2 separate regions of the Homo sapiens genome follow, and region 1 is linked to region 2. The links are contacts of gene promoters, found by promoter capture Hi-C in human tissues and cell types (Jung and others, 2019). All regions are on one chromosome and are shown on one strand. The core of a region is centred on a gene start or on the middle of the fragment in contact, and the rest is flanking DNA. Distances in the headings are between cores, read along the strand shown. Region 1 overlaps DIAPH3 (diaphanous related formin 3). Region 2 holds the start of DIAPH3 (diaphanous related formin 3).

What was found. The method cuts DNA at HindIII sites, captures the fragments that hold promoters and counts their contacts. A contact is called where the count stands out against the background at its distance.
Region 1: a contact is called between a fragment that was not itself captured here and the fragment with the promoter of DIAPH3 in region 2, in 2 of the 25 tissues and cell types used here (IMR-90 fibroblasts and adrenal gland).

What each region holds. Positions count from the first base shown.
Region 1 is chr13:60,097,549-60,103,025 of GRCh38, reverse strand. All of the region lies in intron 3 of DIAPH3 (diaphanous related formin 3), which reads left to right. Among named protein-coding and RNA genes, the nearest start is that of DIAPH3-AS2, 44 kb to the left of the region's middle. The HindIII fragment of the contact is 3,265 bases long and covers 1,477-4,741 here.
Region 2 is chr13:60,162,170-60,168,021 of GRCh38, reverse strand. It overlaps DIAPH3 (diaphanous related formin 3), which reads left to right and starts at 4,094. Exons shown (of 28, transcript NM_001042517.2): 1 at 4,094-4,435. The coding sequence starts at 4,256. LOC105370227 (a long non-coding RNA gene) reads right to left here and starts at 3,965. Exons shown (of 2, transcript XR_942001.2): 1 at 3,823-3,965. RefSeq lists enhancers at 2,273-2,567, 3,656-3,705. The HindIII fragment of the contact is 10,910 bases long and covers 1-5,852 here.

The sequences.
Region 1 (5,477 bases), core at 1,860-4,359, 64 kb after region 2:
CATGCAACTTGTAGGAAGACTCTTTGGGAATATCTTAAAAGTTGCTTGATTGACCTGGTTTCCAGGTAAGGGCTGCCGCTGACTAATTTGGTGTCCTTGTGCAAGTTACAGAATAGGTGTATGCTTTCATTCTGGATGGACACAGCACCACACAAGGTCACAAGTTTGGAAGTTTGGAATAGATGATGAAGTGAGTCTGGAAGGGACCTTGACCCCATTCATTCCTCAACCAGGTACTACTTGGCAGGGGTCAGTCGTTATATTGACTCTGTTCTAGGTCACTGAGGTTTAGTGTGGGTCTGCTAGTGTTCTCTGAAAAAGTGATGGATTTTAGCTTGGCCATCTTTGTGTCAGTGCCACGACCTGAAGATTTCTACCTCCAGAGTTGGAACTTATTCCCGTAACTGTTATCTGAAGATTCTTGAGAATCTTCTTAGGAGCAGCAATTGCTCAGTGTTCTAGTCTGGGGCTGTATCATCTCCAGCTTCAGTTCCATCTCCCAGAAGCTTACCTGCATCTCATGTTTGTCCTAAAATAGGATGAGCAAATTCTATTTGAGAACTTTTCTGACATCTTCTTTATTTAGCAAATATTTAAAAAGTGACCATTATGTTCCATGCACGGTGAAAGAGGCAGCAAGTATAGAAATATTTCTATTAAATGTTATCGGTGAGGGAGAAAAGAGTTACATATAAAGAGCCAGAGTTGAGGGAAGTTTTTTTGTTTAATTTTAATCCATTAAAGATTAACTTGCTTACATATTGATACTCAACCAACTGAGAGAATTTAGTGAAATAAAATAGAAGAGGATAATCGATGTGTAATGCCCTTTCTTGAGGTGGGAGGAAAAGGGATCTCGAGCATAAATGAATAGGAATGTCTTTGGATAAATGCATTGGTTGGGTAGGGAAAGATAGTAGTGTGCAAATAAAATGGTAAAACAGCAGAAAATGGAATTATAGCTTTCTTTTCATATAGGGAATTGAAATTTATTTACTGAGGGTGATAGGCAGAAGTAGTAGTTTCACAGTTCCTGAAAATAGCTAAGGTTTGAAATAAGTACCATATGAAATGTGAAAAGAGAGAGACTAGTAAGATTTGCCATAAATGTTGTAAGAATTGATGAATCAACAGTGGCCTGCATTGGAAGAAAATGGAAGGGTCAAGAAACTGGAGGTTTTTACTGGGGCCAAGAAAAAGATGGTTTGGGAGTGGGAGAAGTGGCAAGATGGAAGATTGAGGTCAGAGATAAGGATTATGGAGATTCTGATGATGCCTGTGGTGGACAGGTTTTAGATAATGAAAAGGTCCAGGTGTGGTCATTAGGACTGTAGCTGAGGACAGTGGAAGTGAAGCTTGCATTGGCAAGGAAGCCAAGGACACTCTAGGGCAGGGGTGCCCAATCTTTTGGCTTCCCTGGGCCACATTGGAAGAAGACTTGTCTTGGACCGCAACTAAAATACACTAACACTTTTGATAGCTGATGAGCTAAAAAAAAAAAAAAGAAATCGCAAAAATATCTCATGGTGGTTTAAGAAAGTGGTTTGAATTTATGTTGGGCCACATTCAGAACCGTCCTGGGTGCAATCTGGACAAGCTTGCTTTAGGGCCATTGTGGGTGATAGCAAGGTGTGGAGTGTCAGAGGAATCAACCCAAGTTGATGGCAGTGGAAGTGTTCAGTCAGATGTTACTAGCCCCAAGGAAATCGGACTTTAGATGATAACATAGATAAATAATATGGAAATAAGAATGAGGGAGATGAGATAGAACAGAGTTTAAATCTAAGTTAAAGAACCATGGTCAACTTACAGAATTTTCCTAAACCTCAGCTCTCTCCTCAATAAAGAGGACATACCTCAAGTTACTGAGGATTAATTAAGTAATGCTTATGAATGTTTAGCACAGTGCCTGGCTCAAGAATTTGACCATAGTTTAAGATTACAGGAGTACTAGAGGTCTTTGTAAAATGGTTCTGGGAGAATGGGTGAGAAGGTCAGTGCATAGAGCAGGTTTGGAATGAAAATAGGAGGAAATGTAAACAGTTGGAGAAGTTTGTGTTTTGAATGGAATTCTGTTACCTGTGTCTGACCTACTTAACCCTTCCTCTCAGGACCCTTGGATTTGTCTTGATTGTGGTTTCCTTAGTCTCCTTTCCTCCCTCAATTCAGTGTGTATTTACTATAGCCGAATATTCTACAAACCTCTTCTTTTTATTTAGGGGATATAAAAAAACTTCTTTTTTTTTTTAATAATGATGTTCTGTTTTTCTTTTTTTACCCCAAGTTATTTATAAAAAGTTCTATTAAAATATTTCAATTTAGTCTTTTAAAATAACTCTTTATTTTGAAATAATTTTAGACTTATAGAAGAATTGCAAAAATAGTATAGAGAATTCTTGTATACCTTTCACCAAACTACCTCTAATGTTTACATCTTATATAACATTAGTACAATTATTAAAACTAAGAATTGAATACTGAGACGATATTGCTAACTAAACTACAGACTTGCTTCAGATTTTGCCAGCTTTCCCACCCATGTCTTTTTTTTCTTCCAGGATCTAATCCAGGATCACATCTTGCATTTATTTGTCATGTCTCTTCCAGTCAATGACAGTTCCTTATCTTTTATGAGCTTGATACTTTTGAAAAGTTATGGTTAGTTATTTTGTAGGGTGCTCTCAATTTGGGTTTGCCTGACTTTTTTTTTCCTTGTGATTAGATTGAGATCTATTTTGGGATAAATACCACAGAGGTGATCAGCCTTCTCATTATATCATAGCTGGAGGTTTGAAATATCAATATGTCCTATTATTTGTGGTGTTAGCCTGGACAACTTTGTTAAGGTGGCATCTGCCAGCTTCTTCCCTTGTAAAGTTAGTATTTCCCCTCTATAATTAAGGAGAAAAAGGATATCTGCACAGTCTTAAAGTATCTCCTCAATTTATTTTGCTTTTTAGGTTATAATCTAATACTATCATTTTATTTTTCAAATTGTTCTAGTTTTGGCCACTTAACAGCTCTTTCAGTTTGGCTCATGTCCTTTTGACTTTCCTTCCTTCCTTCCTTCCTTCCTTCCTTCCTTCCTTCCTTCCTTCCTTCCTTCCTTCCTTCCTTCTCTTACTTTCTGGTACCACATTAATTTGGTCTTTTTAATTCTAGTCTTTTTGGATGACATAGCTGTGTTCCCACGTATTGAATGAAAAAAAAAGCTTTCCAAGTATTGTACTTCTGAAATCTGTTCCTAGTGCTAGTCAGATCAGCACAGTGATTCTGTTTAGATATAGATTTTAATTAGAAAGTAATTGGCCAAAGGGAAACTATTTTTTTTGCTGTTGCAACTCGGTTTCCCCTGGCAAGCCGAGAGTGGTCCCCAACATATAGTGGTTCGATTTAACGATTTTTCGACTTTACAGTGGTGAAAGCAACATGCATTCGGTAGAGACTGTACTTTGAATTTTGATCTTTTTCCTGGGCTAGCTATATGCAGTTTGACACTCTCTTGTGACGTGGGGCAGCAACTGAGAGCTGCAGCTCCCCTGTCAGCCATGCAATCATTAGGCTGAACAACTGACTGTACTGTGTCCCCAGCATTTTTTGGATATTGTGCTTTGTGTTTTCGCATCCCACCATGTCTACAAAATGTGCATCTGTGTATTCAAAATGTTATTATAAAATAGCATTTGTGTTAGATTATTTTGTCCAACTGTAGGCCAATGTAAGTGTTCTGAGGATGTTTAAGGGAGGCTAGGCTGAGCTGTGACATGCAGTAGGTTAGGTGTATTAAATGCATTTCTGCATTTCAATTTTTAATGGCTTTTTTGGGACATAACCCCATTGTAAGTTGAGCATCTGTATATTAAGGAGTACTATGAATGAGATAATTCATAATGTATATTACTAACATATTAATAGAACTTTTTAATAGAACTTTAACATCAAAAACAATAATATGCTCTTCAGAGAGATTAAAATTTTGAATAGGTGACTTGGCAAATGATGTTTTTGAGTGTGATATATTCAGCCCAATAGCCAGTTGATAAGATTTTTCCATTTAAAGGGTAGAGATTTATTTCATATATCCATGGAAATTTTAACCTCATTCAGATTACTCACTGAGCCTTATGTATTTATGTTTACTTTGTATTTCCTGTTCAGTATTTTACCTATAATAGATATTTAATGAGATACGTACATATATCAGCATACTGATATATTGAGGTAAACAGCCATTTTAGAGCCGTTTTACAATCTGTGTCTGCAGTGTCATTTTGTACCTATGTAGTGTGGTAGCACAGTAAAGCAGCATGTTTTACTGACCTGTGTTTGAATGGAAGGAGGAGTTAATACACAATAGTTTATATTGCCTTTTTTTTTAAGGTCAGCTATATGTGTTTCTATATTTATTCTGTTCAATTTATTCTGTTCAATTTGTTTCTATATTTATTCTTTCAATTTGAAAGAAGTCTTATTTTAATATCAAGTAAATTATTTTCAGATGGTATAGTAGGTACTTTTAGTACCCCCTCCCAGCTCCTTTTTACCAGGCTGGTGCACCCATGCCCCAGGTGATGAGTGTTGGCTTCTAATAGCTTATAGATGCCCCTTTCTCCAGAGATTTGCCCTCATCAGAACTAGGATTCTGCAGCTGATGACTAACTTGAGGTTGTTGAGGCTGGTTTCTGCTACCAGGCTATCCTGACTGTGGTGCATCTCAGGGTGAAGTGAGAATCCACCAGAGGCCACCTTTAGTATGTCTTTTTTCCTCTTTTGTCTTACCTCCTTTACTTTCTTATCCTGAGAGCAGCCCCACCTGCACCTGAATCCCTGTTTCAGGCTCTGCTTTTAAGGGAAACTGACCTTAGATAATGGAGATACAACATGATAATTTTGAGGAAATATAAACTAAGAAACATAAAAAATGATAACTTGCTCACTTCTCCCCCACTGACCTTCACCAAGTCCAGTTTCTTAGATAGCCTTGGGAGATGCTTCACCCTTCTGGAATTGCAACATAAAATATGGATATGCATTTTTTAGGAAAAAAAGCTCCCAATAAATTTTCTAAGGACTTCGTGACCCCCAGAAGTTAAGTGCCACTGCCTCATGGAGTTTTCTTCTTTCAGCCTTGTTTTCCATAAATAGAAATTCAAAATATATTCTAATAATACCATACCCCTCATGCTTTCATGCATATTTTCTCTCTACTGCCCCCTTATTTCTCTCTCTCTCTCTCTTTTTTTTTTTCTTTTTTAAAGGGCAGAGCTTTTCTTACGCTTTCAAATGCCATTTCCTCCTGGAAATATGGAGGATGACCTGTTAGATGAAGTTACATGCCTAGTGGGTATCCCACAAAAGTTTAGGGTGTTATGTAGTTGATTCCAAACTTTTGTATTGTTGTCTTAGTCCATTTTTATGTTGCCATAAAGGAATACCTGAGGCTGAATAATTTAAAAAAGAGGTTTATTTGGCTGTCA
Region 2 (5,852 bases), core at 2,845-5,344:
AAAACTCTCAAACTGTTTTTCTTCTGCTCATCAACAATCTACACACAAGACTTCTGTGACCCCAAAATATGTAAGGATTTCTCCCCACCAGCAAGCAAGCAATCAGTTCTCCTGTGGACACCAGCTGAGTGTCTTCCAATTCAGTTCTGATACTCCTTATCCAGAGATAGTGTCAGATCCCACAGGTTGAGGGCTCAGTCCTACAAGATTGCGTCCTCCTTCCCATCAATCACAAGTCTGGGCCTCTAGCACTTCTGATCCACTGGCTTCAAGCAGGGGTTTCCATTATACCTTCTTTGGGCTGGATTAATTTGGAGAGAGGCACAAAGAACTCAGGAAACACATTTTCTGGTTTATCATGAAGGAGATTTTAAAGGATATAGATAAACAGCCAGATGACAAGATACCTAGGGTGAGGTCTGGAAGGGCCCTGAATGAGCTTCTATCCCTGTGGAGTTGAAGTGCACCACCCTCCCAGAATGTGGATGAGTTCCTGTTCACCTTCCTGTCAGCCTCCATGTGTTCAGCTCTCTGAACCCTGCGTTTTATGTAGACTTCATTGGTTGTTCATGATTGAAGCATGGATAATTGTGTCGAAATGTGATTGCACAAAAGGGTATGCTCTAAACCCAGCAAGGCCTGTCTGTTCTGTTCAGATTTTCCTGGTCTCTCTGTGCAGCATTCCTTTCTCTAGAGCGTGGGGCAGGACTCTCTCTGGCCTGAGGGTCTTATGACCCACCATCAGATTAGATTCCTGTCTTGGGCAGGTGAAAGGAGAGCAGAAGTTCCCAGAGAGAGATTCTGTTCCCTGAGGCCTACTTCTGAGGCCTAAAGCACTCTCACATTATAACAAAAGGCTGTAACAAGAGTTATGAAACTTATGAACTAGGAACCATGGGTGAAAATCTGTATCTATATATATATACATATATAGATAATCATAATATGGCAGAAGTGTTCAAGAAATATCTTTGTAGGTGTATGTTTGGGCTTTTCCAGGGAGACATCTAGACATGGAATTGCAGGGTCATAGGTACACATACCTTCACCTTTACTAGGTATTACCAAGTTTTTGTCCAAAGTGCCTATACCTGTTTTGCACTTCCACTATCTATCTAGGAATTCCCAACTTGGCCCAAACTTGGAAACATGGAACTTTGTAGTATTTGCCAATTTAATGAGGGTAAATGACATCTCATTTAAAAAAATTGATTAAGGATAATCACTTCCTTCCCTCAGCTTTCAACAACTTTCTCATATGGTCCATAAGAGTGAGCCATCAAAAGAAAGGCATTAATAATTTTCTGGATGTTGACACTGAACAGAAATGATAAAGGGAAGAAATATATTCCTAGATTCCAAGCTTTTCCAGGCCTTTTTTTTCACCTTCAACTTTCTATTTCCATGACTATTGACTCACTGGGGTGTATCATCTCGCTGGGTGATCAAAATGAGGGTCAGTGCATGCTGTTATGAGGTTTAAGTATGTTGGGGCACACATATAAAATGTACTTTAAAAAACATAAAACTTATACAAAGATATTTTCACTAGTACACTGAAGTTCCAGTGCATTTCTATGAGAAAAAATTCAGAGTGCTGTACGTAAACTTGAAAATTAATTATCATGGCTCCTGTTTACTTATATTTAGTACCTTCTATGTGGCAAAGACATGAGAAAGAAAGGAGCAGTCCCTGACATCAGGGAACTAGTTTGACACTTATAGCTAAGCCTCAGTGTTTTTAGAAACTGGCCTGACACTCATAGCTAGGCCATGTTGTTCTCCTGATGAACAGCATCTCACAGAACAGCAATATCAGACAGGGTCACTCTGTGACCATGATGAAGTGAGACAAAACAAGATCACTTCCATGTTTTGTCTAAGCACAGACAATAACAAGGTCAGTATGCAAATCAGAAAATATCAATGTTAAATAAATTCATGGGAAATGATTATAGACTAACCTTAGTTTTGGACTAATCTGCTGCACTAGGCTCCGGCAGACCAGACCAAAGCAGAATGGTCCCTCATGCGTATTGCCACATAATCAAAAGCAACTCTGAAACCAGCCAGTTTTCCAAAAAGCAGGAAATTCATAGCACCCAATCAGAAGGGGCCAAGTTTATCTGAGCTGGTATGCTAAGAAAGTTCCCCTGTTTTAACCCTATAAGGAAAGTAACTTTGAAACAACTCATCTGCTTCTCATTCCTTATTTCTGTTCTCTAGCTTTTTTCTGCCTATAAAGCCAACCTCCTCTGCTTAGCTCATTGGAACAGATTCTATTTTAGAGAATGAAGTTTTGCCTATTCTGGAATTGCAAATAAAAGCCAATTAGATCTTTAATTTGTTTTGTCTTTCAAAATCAAACATTCCCCTCTCTCCATGATATGGATGACTAATGCTTGTCAGTTACAGCTTTAGGCTTGTCTTTTAGCCTGCCATCCTCCTAGATAAGATAATCACTGAACTGTCTCCACTTCCTGAAGGCACTTAATCTTGAGCAACCCTTCCCACCTCTTTCCACGGAGTCTTTCCCAAATCACCTAATCAAAGCCCAAATCCTTTAAGTGCTTTCTAATACCATTTACCTAAGACACTTCATGGCTCCCCATAGTGCATGTTCTCCCTCCCTGAGTAATAATCCCAACTTCTTCAACTACAGTATTCCTGTAGGAGCATTGACAAAACTCTAAGGGCTTTACATATGCTATGTTATTTAGGCCTGAAAATGCCCCTCTTTCATAGGTATTAGTATAATTACCCCCCTTTTGTAGATGAAGCAGCAAAGAAAGTTAAACGTCATCTCCGGTATCAAATAGCTAGTAAATGGCAGGAATAAAATCTGTATCTGGGTCTGTCATCAAGATATAAGGAACTACTTGTAGTTCTCCTGACCTTGCTGTTCTCCTGTAAGTTTCCCTAAAGATTATGTGCTCTTTGAGGACAGAGCTGTAGAGTCTGGCACAGTAAAACAAATATTAAAAAAGAAAAGCTGTAGTGTGAAGACTTACTGAGAACTAAGGCTCATTTTTTGAACCTCTGTGCCAAACTCCTCAGAGTACCTAGAGTTGTTTCTTGTACCAAAATCAATACTGCATGTTTCCGAGTCTTGGCCTACACCACCTCCATATAATCAGAAGACAGATATCTTAAAGGAATAGTTCCAAGGAAAAGCTCATTTTTAAAGAGGGTATATTGATGTGTTGAGAAAACGGTGTTTGCCTTGTAGCTTGACCTTGGGTTTACACAACAAACTCTTTTGCATGGTTTCAGTTCAAGGCCCTTTGTTATGTGACCTTAAAGTTTCTTCACCTCTATGCTTTCTTGGCCTTGCTCCTGCCTGGAATGGAATGCCTTTTAAATGAATGCCCTGCCACTGTTTCCTGCCTAGTGAAAACCTATGCAGCTTTCCTTTTACCTTTCCAGATCCACTCCTTCAGATTTAATAACTTCCCTTTTTGTTCTCAAGGAACTTCTAAAACAACTGCTATAGACATTTACATTCCTTGGTTAATTGTGTTAGGGTTTGGAAACTACAGGAGACTGTGAGCTCCTGAAGGGCTCAGCCTAGCCTAGCTCTGTCTGATTTTGGGTGGACCCCTCTGCCACCCCAGAGCGAGCACTTAGGCAGGAAATATGTCCAGAAGGCTTCCTTTTGGAGCGTCGTGGGCCCCGTCGTTTCATCCTGCCTAGTACCCCTTCCAGCACCGTACCCAGTCCCAGAACTACTTTTTCCAGCCCCAGACGTGCAAGGAGAGGGCTAGCAGATGGTTTTATATCCCAGCGCTGCTCAAATGGTGGCGCAGGGCCTGTCTCGCCCACCTTCCAGTTCTGCTGGAACCCTATCTGCAAATCCAAAGAAATCCAGGCCGATGACTTCCTCCACGGTCCCCGGCGCTTCTCCAAATCTGACGCCACTCTGCGTCCTTAAGGTGAGCGGCCTGGACCGCCGGAAGGGTTGAGCGGCTGCATAGACAGGCCGCAAGGCCAATCATGTTTCGCAGTGCCCGGAAGGGGCGGTGCCTCAGCGTGTCATTGATCCGGCGGCGCGGGATTGGCCAGTCCCGGGCCAACACGGGTGGCGGGAGTTTTCAGATGTGTTGGCTGCGGCCCCGACTTCAGCGGTTGGGCTAGGCTGTGCTGACTGTTTGGGTGGCGGACCCCGGGAGTAAAACCTGTTGTCGATCCCTCAGCTTCCAGCTTGCGGCTTGCTGAGTGGCCACCTTCTTTCCGGTCCCCGGAGCTGCGGGGAAAGATGGAACGGCACCAGCCGCGGCTGCACCACCCGGCCCAAGGCTCAGCCGCTGGGACTCCCTACCCTTCCTCAGCCTCTCTCCGCGGCTGCCGGGAAAGCAAGATGCCGCGCAGGAAGGGCCCCCAACACCCTCCGCCGCCCAGTGGCCCCGAGGAGCCTGGGGAGAAGCGCCCCAAGTTTGTGAGTATCGCCTGGAGCTAGGGTGGGGCCGCTCCCGCCCCGCCGTAGGGCTGACTGCCGAGGGTGGGCCCACAAGAACTTGGGGACCAAGTTTTATTCTAGAGATCCAGAGGTGCCAAAGATCATAGATTGACAACGACCGGGTCTAGTTGTAGTTGGATCCTGTGACAAATGCCCAGATCTTTGTGTTGCCCCCAAATTTCTTAACGCTGATGTGAAAAGCAGTTCAAACGTGTATATGTATTGACGTCATCTAGGTGGACATTGCATTTTTTAAGTCGAAGTTCTCCCTTCCTCCCTAGTGTAAGAGGGTATAAGATATATCAAAATGAACTTTTAGGTGACAGGTTTTTTTTCTGCTTATTATTTTAATAAGAACTTTTAATTACATATAAGAACTTTTAAGGTAGATATAATTTTCCAAGTTGAAACAGCTAGTTTTAGAACTTGGCGGGTGGTGTGGTCACTGCTAAAGAATGTTTTGCTTAGCTTGGAAAGAATTCTAAATATTTGAAACTTGCTATTCTGGTTTGCTTGTGTTTAACACTTAAGGAAAGTGTCATGATTAACACCTTGTCTTTTCGTTGGTGTCAACTAGTGAAAGTATAGGCAGTGATGATTATTTTGGGGTTTGTGTGTGTAAATAAATCACATAGAGGGTTGATAGATTTGGGATGAGTCCAACAGAATTGAAATTTCACATTGACCACTCCACCATTTTCCTTAGGAATATGGAAAAACTGTGTGTGTGTGTGTGTGTGTGTGTGTGTGTGTGTGAGAGAGAGAGAGAGAGAGAGAGAGAGTACAGCATTTGCCTTATGTGGGCAAGTAAAAATTGTGAGAAATTTAAGTCATGATTCACAAATTAAGGGAATAATGGTTTGTGAACCAGTTGCTAACTATAACATTTAGTTAAAAATAATAGTTGAATAAGACTGAGAGCCCATATTCTGATACATGAGATATATCAGAATACTGAAAATGAGAAACAGCATAGATTAATTGAAAATGAGGAACAGCATAGATTAATTATGCCAAATTAAGTATCAAAATGGTCATAGGAATAGTGACATTTTGCAGAAGGATCAAGTATGGACTTGATCATTATCTTGACAAATCTGAAGAATGAATAGGACAGAGTTAACTTCCCAATGAAAGATTTTTGCCTAATGTGAGAAGAATCCACTAAGGCAATGACTTTTCTTCCTTTTATAGTCTACTCTCTGGGTTAATAATCTTATTTTATTTTGTTTTAACTTCTGTGGTCCAGAATACAGGAGGTGTTATTTTCTGTGACTCATTCCCAGCAAGGAGGTCATGAAAACAGGATCTAAATTAGTATTTATGTTAAGTTTCATTGAAGGATTTCATCATTTGGTTTCCAGTCTCTGTGCTGTTTTTCATTCTTATGTATGTC